Linked DNA regions of Homo sapiens: region 1 is linked to region 2. Evidence: promoter capture Hi-C in 16 types of primary human blood cells and fetal thymus (Javierre and others, 2016). All regions are on one chromosome and are shown on one strand. The core of a region is centred on a gene start or on the middle of the fragment in contact, and the rest is flanking DNA. Distances in the headings are between cores, read along the strand shown. Region 1 holds the start of PSME2 (proteasome activator subunit 2). Region 2 holds the start of BCL2L2-PABPN1 (BCL2L2-PABPN1 readthrough).

The links. Contacts are between HindIII fragments. The CHiCAGO score rates a contact against its expected background, and 5 or more counts as called.
Region 1: the fragment with the promoter of PSME2 here is called in contact with a fragment that was not itself captured in region 2 in 1 of 17 cell types (erythroblasts); the score reaches 7.3 in erythroblasts.

What each region holds. Positions count from the first base shown.
Region 1 is chr14:24,142,311-24,147,861 of GRCh38, reverse strand. It overlaps PSME2 (proteasome activator subunit 2), which reads left to right and starts at 1,252. Exons shown (of 11, transcript NM_002818.3): 1 at 1,252-1,328; 2 at 1,622-1,654; 3 at 2,090-2,152; 4 at 2,397-2,483; 5 at 2,589-2,619; 6 at 2,707-2,804; 7 at 3,394-3,462; 8 at 3,603-3,670; 9 at 3,833-3,887; 10 at 4,191-4,277; 11 at 4,373-4,497. The coding sequence starts at 1,281. The coding sequence ends at 4,453. RNF31 (ring finger protein 31) reads right to left here and starts at 364. Exons shown (of 21, transcript NM_017999.5): 1 at 1-364. The coding sequence starts at 163. It overlaps MIR7703 (microRNA 7703), which reads left to right and starts at 4,297; the gene lies at 4,297-4,373. RefSeq lists silencers at 97-326, 357-446, 1,147-1,206 and enhancers at 288-582, 129-629, 767-836. The HindIII fragment of the contact is 5,988 bases long and covers 1-1,571 here.
Region 2 is chr14:23,305,591-23,311,507 of GRCh38, reverse strand. It overlaps BCL2L2-PABPN1 (BCL2L2-PABPN1 readthrough), which reads right to left and starts at 4,675. Exons shown (of 8, transcript NM_001387346.1): 1 at 4,614-4,675; 2 at 4,229-4,316; 3 at 3,309-3,748. The coding sequence starts at 3,740. It overlaps BCL2L2 (BCL2 like 2), which reads right to left and starts at 4,675. Exons shown (of 4, transcript NM_004050.5): 1 at 4,614-4,675; 2 at 4,229-4,316; 3 at 3,309-3,748; 4 at 1-2,692. The coding sequence starts at 3,740. The coding sequence ends at 2,543. RefSeq lists an enhancer at 2,983-3,816. The HindIII fragment of the contact is 1,163 bases long and covers 2,140-3,302 here.

The sequences.
Region 1 (5,551 bases), core at 3-2,502, 840 kb before region 2:
GTGCGGCGTCCAGCTGCAGGTAGCGGGCGGCTAGCGGCAGAGAGCTGGCTAGTAGCGGCCGGAGCTGCTCCAGGGAAAACGCCTGCCCGGAATCCCTCCTCAGGGCGCTCGCCAGCTCCTCGCGGGCCACCAGGAAGGCCCGCTCCTCTTCCTCCCCCGGCATCCTGAGGCAGGAGTCAGCCCCAGCCTCGCCGCCCGCCAGGACCCGGCGCGGGCAGCGCGCGGCCCGAGCGCCGCCCCTCCCGTCTGGTGCCCGGCTTTGAGGCCCACCCCGGCCCACGCAGCCGCCCCAGGTCACTCAGACCACGGTCACTCTCCAGCCCCCGGCCCAGCGCCAGGGTTAGCCGAGAACAGGAAGTACTAGGAGAGAGGGTGGGACTGCGACCCAATTTCGGAGGAACGGGCGGGGCTTAAGGTTAAGGTTGGAGCGGTGTCAGGAAACCAGGGGGCGCGGCCAAGAGGGAGGGCCAGGTCCCAACCAATGAGAAGGCAAATGGCTCCTGGCTCCTCCCTCAGAGCGCGCCAGCATCTTCCCTCAGTCAAGCGCTCTTCCCCGCCTTCCCCCAATCTGGTTCCACCCCTTCCGGATAGCCGCAGGCGCGGGGTTATCCTATTCAGCTCAAAACCTTTCTTTTTCTAGCTGGACCAGTCCGGTACGCTCCGGGCCTCACCGAGGAAGTCCCACCCTGCAGGGGAACCGACTCTGGCCGGCCCTAACCCCTCTCGAGCGAGTCCCGCCCCATCTCCGGTCTGTCCTGAAGGCAGAGGGAAGACCCTCACCCAACCCCTGCCCGCTCTCTTCTAAGAGCTGCTAGTCCTTCTCCACCCCAGGCGCTCCCTCTGGCTGCCCCTCCCACTCGCTCTGATCTCTCTCCGTCCGCTACTTGCGGTCGAGCCTTCTTGGGGGAGCCCCGCCACTGAATACCCCCTTTGCCATACTCCCACCTCTCTTACCCCAACCCTGGACTTCCAGTTGGCCCTAGCTATAAGCCCCGCCCCTCTCCGAGGGACAGCCCCCGCTCCAGTCTCCGCGGTCCCACTTACCCTAGCCCCTCCCTCGGGCAGCCCCTGGACTGTGACCCAGCCAGCACCGCCTCTCCTAGTGGCAACTGGCTGGGAATGGCTGAGGGGCTACCTACTGCTTGCGGCCTGCCAGCGGGAGGAGGGGGGCGGAAAGAAGAAAGGGGGCGGGGTTGAGGGGGGCGGGCCTGGACCTGGGGAGTGAAAGCGAAAGCCCGGGCGACTAGCCGGGAGACCAGAGATCTAGCGACTGAAGCAGCATGGCCAAGCCGTGTGGGGTGCGCCTGAGCGGGGAAGCCCGCAAACAGGTAATGGGGAATCGGAGGCCAGGAAGGGGTCATAGAACCCTCTTGGGTGGAGGCCAAGCTGGGTGGTTCAGGGGACCAAGCAGTGCCAGAGAACTCCCCCAATCTCGCTAGTGCCTTCACTTCTCGGGGATTCCCAGATTCCTGCCTTCTGACTGCAGTGAGCAGGAGCTTCCAGGGAAAGCTAGTTTGTGGTGAGAAAGGCCTGAGCCACAGTTCGAGGGCACCCTGTTGTGGGTGGAAGCTTTTGACAACCCAGACCCTTAACCAACATCCGGGTACTGCTCTCTGTGTAGGTGGAGGTCTTCAGACAGAATCTTTTCCAGGAGGTAAGTCTCTGGATTTGAGCGATTTGACCCAGAATCTTGGACCAATACTTGAGGATAACAGCCTCTCAGAATGACCCCCCCAAGTCACCCTAGACTTAACCCTACTTCCCTTACCAAGCCTTCACCCAAAGTAACCCCGGAATTATTGATAGCTACCTTTAATCTGACCTTTCTTATGACTCTCCCGACTTCTGGCACTTCTCCCGTCTTTTGATGTGGAGGAAAAAAACCATGGCTTCCAAAGCAGGAATATCACAGTCCTAACCTTCGTTCTGCCATTTACCAGCTTGGGCAAGTCCTTTCATTTTCAGGTCTTCAGTTTCCTCATTTGCAAGTCTTGGACCCAGTGATTTCCAAAGGCCCTTCCAGTTCCATTTGTCAGACATCTCATTGAGCATATTCTGTGATTCCCCTCCCTTGCAATGTAACCCACAGGCTGAGGAATTCCTCTACAGATTCTTGCCACAGAAAATCATATACCTGAATCAGCTCTTGCAAGTGAGTAGTGTGGGCCCCTTCTGCCCCATCCTATGTCCTCTATCCCCTTTGCCCACCCTCTCTAGCTAACAACTGGATTCAGCATGCAGAGAATAGTTTCAAATAGTGGATTAGGAACATTAGGATGGCGTGAGGCATGAGCCTAGGTTGGGAGGCAGAGTGCAAGTGGGATGTATGGAGGGAAGGCTGTGACCTAGGATGAAGGGAAGAGGTTGGGCAGCCCTTGACAGTGAGCTCTGTGCAGGAGGACTCCCTCAATGTGGCTGACTTGACTTCCCTCCGGGCCCCACTGGACATCCCCATCCCAGACCCTCCACCCAAGGATGATGAGGTGAGGCACTCAGGGTGCAGGACTTGGACTATAAACCCAATGGAGAAGATAGCCCTTCAACCTCTGTGACTTTTCTAAAGCTACTTTCCCCCCTTTTTGCCTTAGATGGAAACAGATAAGCAGGAGAAGAAAGAAGGTAAGAGAGATAAGAGGTGACTAGGGAAGGGGTGATGGCACACTGACTACTGGATGAGAAAGGGCCTGAATCCCCTCTTTCTCACAGTCCATAAGTGTGGATTTCTCCCTGGGAATGAGAAAGTCCTGTCCCTGCTTGCCCTGGTTAAGCCAGAAGTCTGGACTCTCAAAGAGAAATGCATTCTGGTAAGCCTGGGAAATGGGGGAAGCAGAAAGAGAAGACACACAAGGTGAGGCCCTGGACTCCTCCGTAGATACAAGTCCTTCATACAGAGACCTAGTCCTGAAAAAGAAAACTTCCTTCTGTGCCTTGGGCTTAGATCCCCTTTGTTCTCCTCGTTCTGTTAGACCTCTCTTATCACAACGGTACCCCCAAAATTAGAGACTGTGCAGTATCCACTCTGTAACCTCAGAACCTACTGCTGTATTGGGTTCATAGTAGAGGTGGTATGATATAGTGAGTGAATTGTTTTAAAAGATTGGACCCTAGAGAGAGACTGCTTAGGTTCAAATCGTGATTCTATCAGTTACCTAGCTGGTAGCCTTAAGTAAGTCACTTAGACATTCTGTGACTCAGTTTTTTCATCTGTTAAATGGGTACAATAAATACATATCTCTGAAGGTTGCTGTGATGATTACATGAAATAAATACATGGCACAGTACCTGGTATGTAATAAGTACCCAATTAAATATAACTTTTTTTAGGAAGTGACAGTAATAGGAAGAACTCAGTATGTTTGTTGAATGATTCTTACATGATACCTCTTAACACAGGTGATTACATGGATCCAACACCTGATCCCCAAGATTGAAGATGGAAATGATTTTGGGGTAGCAATCCAGGTAAGAAAAGGGTAACTGAAGATACTTAGAGTGGGGAGAGCCTCAGGGGGTGAGCTAGACATGAACCAGGAGGAGGAGGAAGATAGTGTATGAAATGGGGAGGACATGAAGTGTTGTCTTTGCCTCCCGTGTCACCACAGGAGAAGGTGCTGGAGAGGGTGAATGCCGTCAAGACCAAAGTGGAAGCTTTCCAGACAACCATTTCCAAGTGAGGGCAGCTGGAGGACCAGCATTGGGGGCAGTAGGAGCATTTCTTTGGGACCCCCAGAGCTGGGCAGCCCTATCAGGATGATGGGAGACTTTGGGAAGGGTCTGAGGGAGTACATCTCCCTGAACACTCATTCCTGTGGTATTCCCTTGCTTCTGGCAGGTACTTCTCAGAACGTGGGGATGCTGTGGCCAAGGCCTCCAAGGAGACTCATGTAGTGAGTGGATAGTCCACCAGCCTTTTAGCTGGGTGTGGGACGAGGAGGTGTGGAGGAAGAAGTCCTCCTTGTCTTGTTTGTGACTTTCCCAATGTGGAGAATATTAAGCTAAAAGCATTACCTAGAAAAACTGGTTTGGGCTTCAACAACCTTGACCCTTTTCTCTGCTCAGTCCTTTGGGATCCTATTTCTTGGTGCTAAGAAGGGGTTCATTCTCAAGTTAACCTATTTCCTATAAAAGGAAACCAGACTCATGTCCCAGCCTCCCATGGGACTGACTCAGCTTTGCCTCCCACATTGCAGATGGATTACCGGGCCTTGGTGCATGAGCGAGATGAGGCAGCCTATGGGGAGCTCAGGGCCATGGTGCTGGACCTGAGGGCCTTCTATGTGAGTGTGGAGTAAGGCTTTAGGGGAGGTGGATGAGTGGGGGCAGGCAGGGGATTGGCTAAGAACCTGACTCTTGCACTCTGGCCTTCTCCCAGGCTGAGCTTTATCATATCATCAGCAGCAACCTGGAGAAAATTGTCAACCCAAAGGGTGAAGAAAAGCCATCTATGTACTGAACCCGGGACTAGAAGGAAAATAAATGATCTATATGTTGTGTGGATTCCCTTCTGGCGTGTGTCATTCATTCAAAAAGCATTTATTGAGTGGCACCTATGTCCAGCCTGAAGATGAATGTGGTGGGAAGGGGTGGGTGTCACAAAGACAAAGATGACTTAGATGCCCACTGTAATCTTGACTGTGAGAAAGAGGGGATTCAGGCCCTTTCTCATCCAGTAGTCAATGTGCCATCTCCCCTTCCCTAGTCACCTCTTATCTCACTTACCTTCTTTCTTCTCCTGCTTATCTGTTTCCATCTAAGGCAAAAAGGGGGGAAAGTAGCTTTAGAAAAGTCACAGAGGTTGAAGGGCTATCTTCTCCATTGGGTTTATAGTCCAAGTCCTTCACCCTGAGTGCCTAGGGTGGGGATTGTTACATGCCATGGCAGCCATGCAGATAACCTGTATTTTGGAATGTAACAGTATTATTTTCATCCAGAGGTCTCAGGAATTATTGGAAGAGATGGCATTTGCACAGAGCCCTTATGGGAATAATCAGGCTTTGGATACACAAGGGGAAAGTTCTGTGGTCAACATCAGGAATGAAGAAAGAAAGAATCCTCATCAGTTCAGGAAAAGCCTAGAAGGAGAATAAGGTTTCACTGGGAGAACTATGGAGAACTACGGATGAATGATTGGACTCCCCCCACCCTTTTTTTTTTTTTTTTGAGATGGAGTCTTGCTCTGTTGCCCAGGCTGGAGTGCAATGGCACGATCTCAGCTTACTGCTACCTCCGTCTCCCGGGTTCAAGCAATTCTCCTGCCTCAGCCTCCCGAGTAGCTGGAATTACAGGCATGTGCCACCACACCTGGCTAATTTTTTTGTATTTTTAATAGAGACGGGGTTTCGCCATGTTGGCCAGGCTGGTCTCGAACTCCTGACCTCAGGCGATCCACCCACCTCGGCCTCCCAAAGTGCTGGGATTACAAGGCGTGAGCCACCGCGCCGGGCCTGGACTCCCTCCTTAAGGGCTAGGAGGGGAAAAAATAATGCTTCCAAGGCACTGTGGTGAAGGAAATACATCGCAGGACATTATGGGAAGGATGAATCTGTAAGTT
Region 2 (5,917 bases), core at 1,472-3,971:
CGCAGGACCGAGTTGCCCTACTTCCGCTCCTTCCTTGGCCTAAACAAAGTCCCTATTTGTCCCTTTGGGCTCTGGAGAGCAAGAAACCCCTCTCCTCCTACTTAATCTTTGAAAAATGGCAATTACATTTATTTCCCTTATTTTTTAAAAAATGAAATGGATTTAAAAATTGGGAACCATACTCAGCCTTCTTGGCCAAGAGCTAATCCCAAGGAACTATATGGCTCTAGAAGAGAGTCCCTAGTTTTCCCTGACAGAAGAGTCTCTGGGGTTTCCCTTCAAGCTAAGAAGGGCAGGACAGGTCAAAATTGCCCACTGTGGTCCCATCTAAGCTATGCTTCTGGGAATCCAGACCAAGCCCTTTACCCTTTCAGAAAACAGCCTCTCTTTCCACCCAGGTGTCAAGGCTTCAGAGCAGGGCATTTTGGTAACCTGGCCATGGTCCCTGCAGCTCCTCTTGGCTAAAGGTCCCGGGGAATGCTAACAGGGATATGTGTCCTGTGGTAGAGGGTAGGGTGAAGAGTGTGCTCCATACCTGGGGAAGGAAGCACAGACTCCAATTTGGAGCCGATGGTCTAGTCAGTGGTTTTCCAACTTTTTTTCAGCAGCAAACCCCTTAATGCAAATAAAATCTTACCCTGAACCCCAATATGTAAGACAGCTACAAGGGGAGCTGTTCTGTTTGAGGGCAAATTGCCCAGCCTGCTCAGCTCCCCACCCCCTTCATCTCCCCAAGGACTCCTGAGGCAACCCCTAGGAAACTTCAGGGCTCTGCCAAGCAGTTTGAAAACCACTGGCCTAGTTTGTCCTGAGCAAGTCAGAGACCCCCCACCCCAACTGCTTGCCACAAGCTGGCTCTGAGTTTCTGGTGTCAGCATACTCACAACAAGACCAAGTGGCACATGCAGCCTACCACCTCCCCTAGAAATACCATGAAAAAGTGCAGCCCTCTCTCAAAAGCAGAAGTCTGGACTCAACACCTGAGGCCAATTTGGTCCCACGTTCTGGCGAGCACAACTACGTTGCCACATTCTAGGACCAAGTGAAAATCTCCAAGAAGAGTCAACCATGGTCTAGCTAAGGTGATCAGTGCTCAGGACCACAGGCAGGGTTCTAGAGCACTGTGTCAGAAAGTTAGCATTGGAGAGCAGCAATCTTAGCACCTTGGAAAGTGCAGCAGTGAGGTCTGGCTCAGGGCATGCATCTGGAGTGAATAATTTCTTCCTCAAAAGAAAAAGCCATAATCTGAAGCTGTTCTAGAGGACTGCGAGTTCCAAAGTTAACATCCTCAGACTCTGAGGTACAGACAAGTAACACCCATGCAAACAGTGTGGCTTCAAATAAATCATAAATGCTTCTAGGTCATGGTAGGTACTCTAGAACCCATATGCCTGGCCCCTGATAAAGCCGAACCAAAGCCCACAACACAGCATAGGCCAGTCCTGGAGTACCCATCACCCTCACACCCATGGGATTCAGATCTGAAATGGTCATCTCAAGGCATCAACAGTCTCACTGAGACACAGTGTGGGACCCAGACTGTATTCTAGATCAGCACTTATGCCCACAACCTCAAAAGGAAAATTAGTTAGGGCCCCAATTTAGAGTTTCAGTTTGGGTACAGAGGTCCCAGAGATTGGAAACACTTTAGGCACCATTGTGCCTGAGTGGGAGAGGAGGGTGGCAGGCAGGTCCGGCTACCTAAGCCTCCACCCATCCAGGCTCAACAGCCCTGCCCTTCTATCAGAGCCCAGGAGGCAGCAGCAAGTGCATAATGCACAAGGAAGGGGGATGATGAAGGAACAAGGCCAGCTGCAGAACTGCTCTTCTCTCCAAAGCCTTGCCAATCACTTTCTGGAAAGAAGCAGCAGAGCCCTCGGTCTGGATACAATGTTTCTCTCTAAGCCTTGAGGCATCAGGACAAGGGCAGGGGAAAGGAGGGGTTGGGAGGAGGGACAGAGAACTGCCCCTAGTTCTTGCCATTGCAAGAGGGAATGTTTTCTCCTTGAGGAATCCCATCACCACCAGATTTGCCAGGCAGCCCAGCATGCACACCAGCATGCGTGCACATGCACACGCGTGTCCAAGCAGCCCACTGTTAACAGCCACCTCTCCCTATCACCTGAGAACCCCTAAGCTTCCATTCCAAAGGGATGTGCCTTCTGCGTTCCCTAAATCCCACTCATCTAATGGAATACAGCTGCTTATGTAAGTCCACCTTCCTCAGGGCTGTGAAGCAAGTTCCAGGTCGTTTCATGTGCCCACACCTATAGGCGTGATCCCTCCCACCTCCCCCAGCCCTGGAACGACTACATCTCCTGTGCCCCTAAACTTGCCAAAACATTCCCCTCCCCTCTGTGTCCTGCTCACTCTTCCAATCGCCTACCTGGCCTACTCAGCTCCCTCACACACTACCCTTTCTCTGCCCATCCTGTTCCATGCCCACCCATCCACCAACTCCACTTCTTCCAAGGGCATTTCTCTGTTCTGTTCCTGCTCTCCTGGCCCCCAGCCACACCTAGCCCCACCTGGCCCTGGACTTTCACTTGCTAGCAAAAAAGGCCCCTACAGTTACCAGGGCCCCCAGTGCCACGGCCCCCGTCAGCACTGTCCTCACTGATGCCCAGTTCCCCTCCCGCAGACGCCGCGCCTCCTCCAGGGCCCCGTCCCCGTATAGAGCTGTGAACTCCGCCTGTGGGAGAGAAGGGAAGCAGGAGAGAAAGAAGGAGAAAGGGATATCAGGAGAGGAAAGAGTGGAGAGAAGAGGAGAGGAAGAGTTCCAGTTCCATCCACTGCGAGCACTACCCCATACCCAGCTCCTCTCTGGCCAAAGCTCTTCTCCCTGCAAGCCCCTCTGATCCCCCCAGGTGCACCCCCACCCTGAGAGACTGGTTCATCTGCCCACTCTGCCTCCAGTGAATTCCATCCTTTCCTTGGCGAAAAATTCTGCTCAGAACTAGCATCCTTTGCCAAGGCTTGCCTGACCACCACCCATCCCTGGTCCTCCCCACCTCCCACGCCATGACTCAGATGTAAAAAGTCCCTGACAACATTCCCCTGCAGGCACTCCTTGGGTGTGTATTCTGTCCTCTGCTTGGGACCATGAGCCCATCCAGTGTTGACTGCATGGCAGCCCTGGAGTGCAGAGTCCAGGCATCTCTCAATCTAATTCCATCCAGACGGGGAGACTCAGCCCCGTACCTCATTCCCAACATAGCTGCCTCAGCCTCCAATCAGAGCCCCCATCTTCCCCCTGGAGACCAGCTTTGCAGAAGGATGTGCAGAGCGGCAATTGAGAAGCTTCTTACCCAGCCCCCACTGCTGTGGATCCAGTCAGCCAGCTGCGTCTCCAGGTAGGCCACCATCCACTCCTGCACTTGTCCCACCAGTGGTTCCATCTCCTTGTTGACACTCTCAGCACACAGTGCAGCCCCAAAGACAAAGAAGGCTACAAGGCGGCCCCAGTTGGGGCCCCCTTGAAAAAGTTCATCGGAGACCTGGGTGAAGCGTTGTTGGGCTGAGCCTGGGGTCACATGCAGCTGAGCCGCCAGATCAGAGAAGGTGCGCCGGAAGCGGGTCTCGAACTCATCTCCAGCTGCCCGCATGGCTTGGTGCAGCGGGTCAGCTGCTGGGCCCTCCCCGGGGCCAGCTCCACAGACATAACCCTTCTGCCTCAGCTTATAACCTACAAAGTCTGCCACCAGAGCCCGTGTGTCTGGGGCCGAGGCTGGGGTCGCCATCCGGGCGGCTATAAGAGGCAAGGATGAAAGACTGGCATGAATATATGAAGAGAGAATCAGAAGGAGCACTTCTGGTTTGACCAACCCAGTGAGATGAGGAGGAGAGAGGAAATGCTCAGGACTCACTGGACAGGGAGAGGCAAGAACAAGGGAATTAAGTCATGATATGAGACTAGGCTGTGAGTGGCTGGCCATTACATTCCTAATATGCCAAATTAAATGTAAAACAAGTAAATTTTCTGTTTAGGATACTTTAGATTCTTTTCACAATAAGACAACGTCAGCTCAATGACACCCCTACAACACCCCCACCCCCGGGTCTCCTTAGTCCACACCTTCTTGGCTAGAGGAAGGGTCTTAGGACCTCCCCAAATGCAAGATGTAAAGATGTTGGCAGAGACACAAGATGAGGGGGAGCAGATGGGCTGAAGAGAAAGGTGGGAGACGCAATGGGTTACTCCAGACAGAGAAAGGAAGGAGACACTCACCCAGCCGGGATGGCAGCTCTTAAGACACAGCACTGGTGGCAAGGAGCCCCCAGCTGGGGCCTTTCATCCTCCTGGCCAGCGTGGAGCCCTGGAAAGGGGAGGGGGAGATCAGAACCAGGAGGGGAAGGCCAGGGATCAGGTTCTGGCCTGGGAAGGGCTAGGGTTGCAGCTCTGGGCCTAGGCCCCTGCCCCCAACGCTCTACCAGCTGTGTGGCCGAATCCATGTTTAATGACTGTCCTCCCGGGAAACCCAAGGCCAAGGGCTTCCTGCCGACACCATCTCTATTCCCGGTTCCCCCTAGTGCAGCCCAAAGGCCCAGCTCCTCCCTTACCCCCACCTCAGCCAGTCTCCAACCCCGCCCGCCTGCCAGGTTAGGGATCTCACGGGTCAGGCCGCTGCCGGGATCCGGGCCGTTTCCTGGTGCAGGAGCTGGGAGGGAGGGAGAGAGGGAGGAAGGGAGGGAAGGAAGGAGGGAGGAGAAAGGGGGGGGCAGAGGGAGGGCCCGGCGCCGGGTGATGATGGGGCCCAGAGATGCGTCCAGAGAGAGGGGCGGGGCTGGGACGCAGGCCTGCAAAGGGCCACTACTCAGGAAGAGGGAGGGCTGCTGAAGGCAAAGAAGGGCTGGCTGAGAGGGCACGGTGGGCTGGGCTGGGCTGGGCTCCTGAGCCTCTAGGCTGCCCAGAGAAATATGCCGGACTTCGGGACATCTCGGGGCAAATTTAGCATTTTCAGGAGGTTTCCGATGTTCCATGCACTTGTTGAACTTTTCCAGCCCTGAACTGTGTGCCTGGAAAACAGGAGCAGTTCCCATTAAGCTGGGAACCGTCTACCAGGTGCCTTACCCTTATGGGGCTAGCAGACACCACATAGACACCAAACCTTTCCCATCTTTTCTCCAGGACCTTTAACCCAGTGTTCTCTTTGTGGGCTGGGCTTCAGCCAGGCATTAGGGAGCCAGGACTTGGATCACAAGCAGTTTCTCTCGGTACTTTTCTTTAATTCATCTTCTTTTGTAATTAGATTGATTTTAGTGGGGTTTTTTTCTTTTTCTTTTTTTTACCCAACACACAAACTCATTCTCATTATGAAAAAAATCAAACAATAAAGACGTGCGGAGTAATAAAATACAGGTTCTCAAACACACACACACATACACACCCAATTCCACTTCCCTCCCTGCAGGTTGCCAGTGTTAAGCTTGATGTTTATCCTTCCAGATTACATATATATGGGGCCATTATTTATACATGGCAGTATATTTATACAGGGCAGGTCACAGGCGTGAAGCAGTCTGACCATAGCTGATCCACATGAGGGCACTCACAGCCAGCCCCCTGGGCTCTTGGATCTGGCACTTTTTTAAAGAGTGCCCCAACCAAAGGCCAGAAAGAGGCAACCTAATTCTCCTATTCTGCTAGCTCCCTTTGCTTCTACCTCCAATCCAAGCCTCTGTATTACCATCTTCCCTTATGGTCACTGGAGAAGCAAGGTCTTTTCTGCAGCAATAACAGTAACAACTAGCTGGGTTCGGTGGCTCATACCTGTAATCCCAACACTTTGGGAGGCCAAGGCGGGTGGATCACTTGAGGCCAGGAGTTCGAGACCAGCCTGACCAACATGGCAAAACCCCATCTCTACTAAAAATACAAAAATTAGCCAGACGTAAAATACAAAAATTAGCCAGCCTG